Regions from separate parts of the Homo sapiens genome. Here region 2 is linked to region 1. The links are contacts of gene promoters, found by promoter capture Hi-C in blood cells and fetal thymus (Javierre and others, 2016). All regions are on one chromosome and are shown on one strand. Each heading gives the region's core, a stretch centred on a gene start or on the middle of the fragment in contact. The rest is flanking DNA. Distances are from core to core; before and after follow the strand shown.

Evidence for each region. The method cuts DNA at HindIII sites, captures the fragments that hold promoters and counts their contacts. A CHiCAGO score of 5 or more calls a contact.
Region 2: a fragment that was not itself captured here is called in contact with the fragment with the promoter of NDUFB8 in region 1 in 4 of 17 cell types (naive CD4 T cells, naive CD8 T cells, activated CD4 T cells and 1 more); the score reaches 8.9 in naive CD4 T cells.

Annotation. Positions count from the first base shown.
Region 1 is chr10:100,528,262-100,531,152 of GRCh38, forward strand. It overlaps NDUFB8 (NADH:ubiquinone oxidoreductase subunit B8), which reads right to left and starts at 1,610. Exons shown (of 5, transcript NM_005004.4): 1 at 1,506-1,610; 2 at 1,119-1,245. The coding sequence starts at 1,590. RefSeq lists enhancers at 305-474, 1,317-1,899, 2,033-2,082. The HindIII fragment of the contact is 5,505 bases long and covers 1-2,891 here.
Region 2 is chr10:100,322,060-100,324,817 of GRCh38, forward strand. The region is part of intron 2 of PKD2L1 (polycystin 2 like 1, transient receptor potential cation channel); the gene reads right to left. Among named protein-coding and RNA genes, the nearest start is that of PKD2L1, 6.8 kb to the right of the region's middle. The HindIII fragment of the contact is 7,904 bases long and covers 1-2,758 here.

The DNA.
Region 1 (2,891 bases), core at 360-2,859:
AAGCCGAGGTGTGTAGCAGGCCATACCATCTAGGTTTCTGTAAGTACACTCCTAATGTTCATACAATGAGGAGATAACCTAACAACCCATTTCTCAGAATGTATCCCTGTTGTTAAGTGACATATGACTGTACTCTGATTCCCTCATTAGATAGAAAATGAAAAATTAAAGTTTAGAGTCTGAATCCAAAGTCACCCAGCTAATTGGAATAAAAACAAAAAGGGTACAGATTAGAAAAGCACTCTTCTCGTAATAACTGTGTTCTTGACCACCCAGTTGGCATTCATCTCTGCGTCTCAAACACCTCATGGGACCTCTTGCTAAGCTGGGTTTTCCCCAACAAATCCAGGTTCATCTGACACTGGCTTCGAACAAGGCTGCTCTTGTCCACAACATAAGAAAAAACAGGAAATGATGACAACTAGACATATGCTACAGAAAATGAGTGTATAACAAGAAGAATAGAAGTTGCTGAAACCAAGATTGAAAGAGTGACATTAGGACAGGAAATAAAGGCGATGATAATCACTTCAGATAATTAACCATTGGGATGTTATGTGGGTATGGATACGGAAGAGTGTGGAAGGGATAGGATAACATCAACTGGAGTACGTAAGGGGGCTGGCTGTTTAATCTGCTTAATAGTTGCTACGATTTCCACAGCACTAACAGAAAAACATTTTTTTTAAAGAGACATACACACAAATATAGAGTACTCCGTTTACAAATAAGATTCTCATGACAGGAGTCCAGCTCCAGCCTGGTCACATGCCTGGATGACAGCACCTGAGCGCAGCAGATGCTCAATCTAAATGAAACTCGACGCTCTGGATAGAGCCAAGGAAGGCTCCTGCTATTCGGGGGTCCTCGAGGGAGCCATTAAAACCTCGGCTTCCTCATTTGAGGAAACAGCCTGAGCCAAGGAGAAAATTGAAGTCCTCTCAGCTGCAGCTGCTCACCCACCCCCCTCCCACCTCCCTCCACAGAGAAAAGCACCCACTCCATTGACTCTGAGGGGTCACGAGAAGGTTCGGGAAAAAGGGTCACAGTCAAGCCACCCAACCCAGCCGGCCTTCTCCCATCACTACTTGGGTGCGAGCATACCCTCTCTGTCTCACCCCATGCCATCATCCGGGTAAGGTTCGTAGTCTTCCACACGCATATTATACTTCTTGGCGGCGGCGGCCCGTTCTTCTGGGGTCCTAGGATAGGGCCCCGGGAACATGTCCTTGGTCATGTGGGAGGCTAGAACGCAGAAGAGAACAGGTCAGAAGCGAGCCCGCTCTCCAGCCGCTCCGAAGGCTTCAAGTCGCAGGGGCTGCAGAGGTCCGAGCCCGGGACTTCGCAGGATCAGTGCGATCCTCCACCCCATTTTCTGGATATATCAACGCCACCTCCACTCCCTACCCGGAGGCTGCCGCCGCGGCATCTACGATCCCCCCTCCCGATACACCAAATTTCAGGTACCCCCTTCCCACACTGAGGTCTCGCCCGTTCTCGCGGACCTGTCCGTGCGCCCAGCGGCATCACGTTCCGGGATGCCCTTTGCAGCCACTGGACTCCCAAGACCCCGGCCCTGGCCACCGCCATCTTCACCTTCTTCACGTTTCCCTTCTGCACATGCGCAAAGGCCTGTCACGGCGGCTGAGCCGGGCCAAACGTGACGGAGGAAGCCGGGAGTGAAGAAAAGCCGAAGGGTTCAACAGGGGCGGGGTTTAAATACGCAGTTGGGAAGCCAAGGGTTGGATAGAGGCTGGGAAGGATAAGCGGGAAGAAGGGAAAACCAGGCAGGTCTCTGACATTTCAGAATGTTGTGTCCTTTTTCTCCCTGAGCTGACTTAGACCCATCCAGGGATGATGGGAACTCGGAACCTGAGCAACTCAGGTAGACAGCTTAACCACCTCCCCCAGGAGCTGTACTAGTGAAATGAGCCTGTCTTACTCTCTTCTCTGGCTGCTTGCTTTCCTCTCCTTCACGGGCACTTCCTTCCATCCCCAAACATGATCATTCTTCAAATTCACCTGTTGGTCTTGCTTGTTGTTCTGTTCTCCAAATGGGTTGATCTTCACTTAGACGCCAGTGCAACACACAATTCGGCCCTGAATTGGCTCCTTAGTTTCAGTCCGTGTTTCCATCTGCATGTCTCAGTCACCTCAACCCAACAAATGTAAAATTAAACTTATCACCAGAGGCAGCTCTCCAGAGACAGCTTAAAGCCTCAGAGTTGGTAGGACTTGGATAAAACAAATTACAAACCGGCCCATAATGAACAAACTAACTCAACAGAAGAATTGGAGACATTATTATGTTTGCATATGAATGTTTTCACTTGGGATTTGAATAACTTACACATTATAAATATGCACGTATTTCCAGTGACTTTTCAGGTGACCACTGTTTTGGAGCAGAACCTATTATTATAAACATTCTCAAGTATATATCAGAGCAATAAAAATGCATATAAGCTGGGAGCTGTGGCTCACACCTGTAATCCCAACACTTTGGGAGGCCTAGGTTGGAGAATGGCTGGAGACCAGGAGTTTGAGACCAGCCTGGGTGACATAGTGAGACTTCGTCTCTTTTTTTTTAAGTTATAAAAAGTAAACAAATATGGATATATACTATTTAATATATAAATTTTGGGAAGGACTACACAGCAACTTGCTGTCTTGTAAATGACATCACTAGTTGATGTTCAGAATAATTGCACAACATCTGCATTCAACCAATAGCAAACCCTGATCCAATTTAGGTCAAGAAACAGAGTTGATCTAATTTATTTATTTTTATTAAGATATTATTCACATACCATAAATTCACCCTTTTAGGCCGGGTGCGGTGGCTCACGCCTGTAATCCCAGCACTTTGGGAGGCTGAGGTGGGAAGATTA
Region 2 (2,758 bases), core at 211-2,710, 210 kb before region 1:
TATGAAAAATACAAAAATTAACCAGGTGTGGTGGTGCATGCCTGTAGACCCAGTTACTTTTAGGGCTGAGGTGGGAGGCTCACCTGAGAGTTTGAGGCTGGAGTGAGCTGAGGTTACACCACCGCATAACAGCCTGAGCAACAGAGCAAGGCCCGGTCTCAAAACAACAACAACAACAACAAAAACAAAAACTACGGTGGCTCACGCCTGTAATCCCAACATTTTGGGAGGCCGAGGTGGGCCGATCACTTGAGGTCAGGAGTTCCAGACCAGCCTGGGCAACACGGTGAAACCCCGTCTCTACTAAAAATACAAAAATTAGCCGGGCATGGTCGTGGGCGCCTGTAATCCCAGGTACACGGGAGGCTGAGGCAGGACACTGCACTCCAGCCTGGGTGAAAGAACCAGACTCTGTCTCAAAAAAAAAAAACTACTTAGAAATATGATGAAATGTTATAAATGATGAAAGTATACAATATAATACAACTAGGTAAGAATGTATGCATAAACACCGGTAATAAGAAAAATGAAAAATTCTTTAATGTAGTGGTAGCCAACTATATTTTAAAATATTCTTTAATGTTTTTATATCATCTTTTAAATACACCAATAAAAAGAAAGAATAGTAGTTAGCTAGTAGAATTTCTCAATACTCTGCTTCTATTAGGGTAGGGCACGGAGTGGTCCTTGCTAAGATGTTGATGGGTATTAGTAAATTTATGAGCAATACATTTCCAGATAGAGAGGCCATAGTAGACTCCAGTGGTTAAAAGCCTCGGGATTCAAATCAGGCAACCAATTGCTGAGTTGGATTCCTCTTTCTTCACTTGCTTGCATGAGTGGCCTTGAGCAAGCTGTTTGACTTTTCTAAATCTTTCTGATTTGTAAAATGGGAGTGATAGGCAGAACCAATTTCATAGAGTCATTGGAAGTAGTCAGTGAGATAAAGTACATAATATAGTGCTAGGTGCATTGAAAAATTATTCAATAAAGGTTTGTTGTTTGTGCTGTTAATAATGATGATGGTGGTGGTGGCGGTTGTGATAAACTGAGGGCTTCCAGGGAAAGTACTTTCACTTAAAGGTCTGATGTCACTTAAAGGATGCTACTCAAATAATACTATCCCTATATGTGGAGCCAACTAAAATTTTGAAAGGTAATTTTATGTTATTTATTGATTTACTTTTAATTGACAAATAATCACGGCTTTTATTTTATTTTATTTTTGAGATGGAGTCTCGCTCTGTCGCCCAGGCTGGAGTACAGTGGCACGATCTCGGCTCACTGCAACCTCCACCTCCCAGGTTCAAGCGATTCTCTTGCCTCAGCTTCCTGAGTAGCTGGGACTACAGGAGCGTGCCACCACACGCGACTAATTTTTGTATTTTTAGTAGAGTAGGGGTTTTGCCATGTTGGCCAGGCTGGTCTCGAACTCCTGATCTCAGGTGGTCCACCCGCCTCGGTCTGCCGAAGTTCTGGGATTACAGGCATGAGCCACGGCGCCCGGCTCACTCTGTATCTTTATGGGGTGCAATGTAATGTTTCTTCAGATGTATACATCATGGAATGATCAAATCAGGCTAATTAACATATCCATCATCTCAAATGTTTCTTTGTGTTGAGAATATTTAAAATCATCTCTTTTAGCTATTTTGAAAGATATAATACATTATTATTAACTGCAATCATGAAAGTTATTTTTTCCAAGTTTCCACAAGCAGCACTGAAAAGTTGTTTTTAATACACTTTTTAAGATAAACTTTATTTATTTATTTATTTATTTTTTGAGACAGAGTCTTTCTCTGTCACCCAGTCTGGAGGGCAGTGGCATGATCTCAGCTCACTGCAACCTCCGCCTCCCAGGTTCAAGTGATTCTCCTGTCTCAGCCTCCTGAGTAGCTGGGATTACAGGTGCCCGCCATCACGCCTGGCTAATTTTTGTATTTTTAATAGAGATGGGGTTTCACCATGTTGGCCAGGCTGGTCTCGAACTCCTGGCCTCAGGCAGTCTGTCCAGTTCAGTCTCCCAAAGTGCTGGGATTACAGGCATGAGCCACCGTGCCCAGCCCACTTTATTTTTTTAGAGTAATTTTAGGTTCACAGCAAAATTGAATGAAAGGTGCAGAGATTTCCCATAGATCCCCTGTCCTCACATAAGTACAGCCTCCCCTGCTATCAACATCCAACACCAGGGTGGTACCTTTGTTATACAATGGACCTACATTGACACATGACTATTACCTGAAGTCCACAGTGTACCTTAGGTTTTACTCTTGGTATTGTACATTGTGTGGGTTTTACGTAAAATGACAGGTATTCACCATACAGAGTAGTTTCACTGCCCTAAAAATCCTCTGTGCTTTACCTATTCGTCCTTCTCTTTCCCCAACCCCTGGAAGCCACTGACAACTTTTAGTATCTCCATAGTTCTGTCTTTTCCACCATGGCATATAGTTGGAATTACACAGTATGTAACCTTTTCAGATTGGCTTCTCTCTTGAAAGGTATTTTTTTAATGAACAGTCTAGAGGACCAGGTGAGGGTTTTGATTTTCGACTAGATAATACAAAGATAACTACTACCAGTGATTGTGTTTGGTTCTTTATGCATGTTATCTCCAGAAGATAAATGTTATTATCCTTATTGGTAGAACAATTGTTCAAGGTCACAAAGCCAGGAAGTAGAGGAGCTAGTATTTGAATCCAGTGTGTCTGACTCCAATGTTTTTATGTTTTCATCATGCCACTGTGTTTACCTA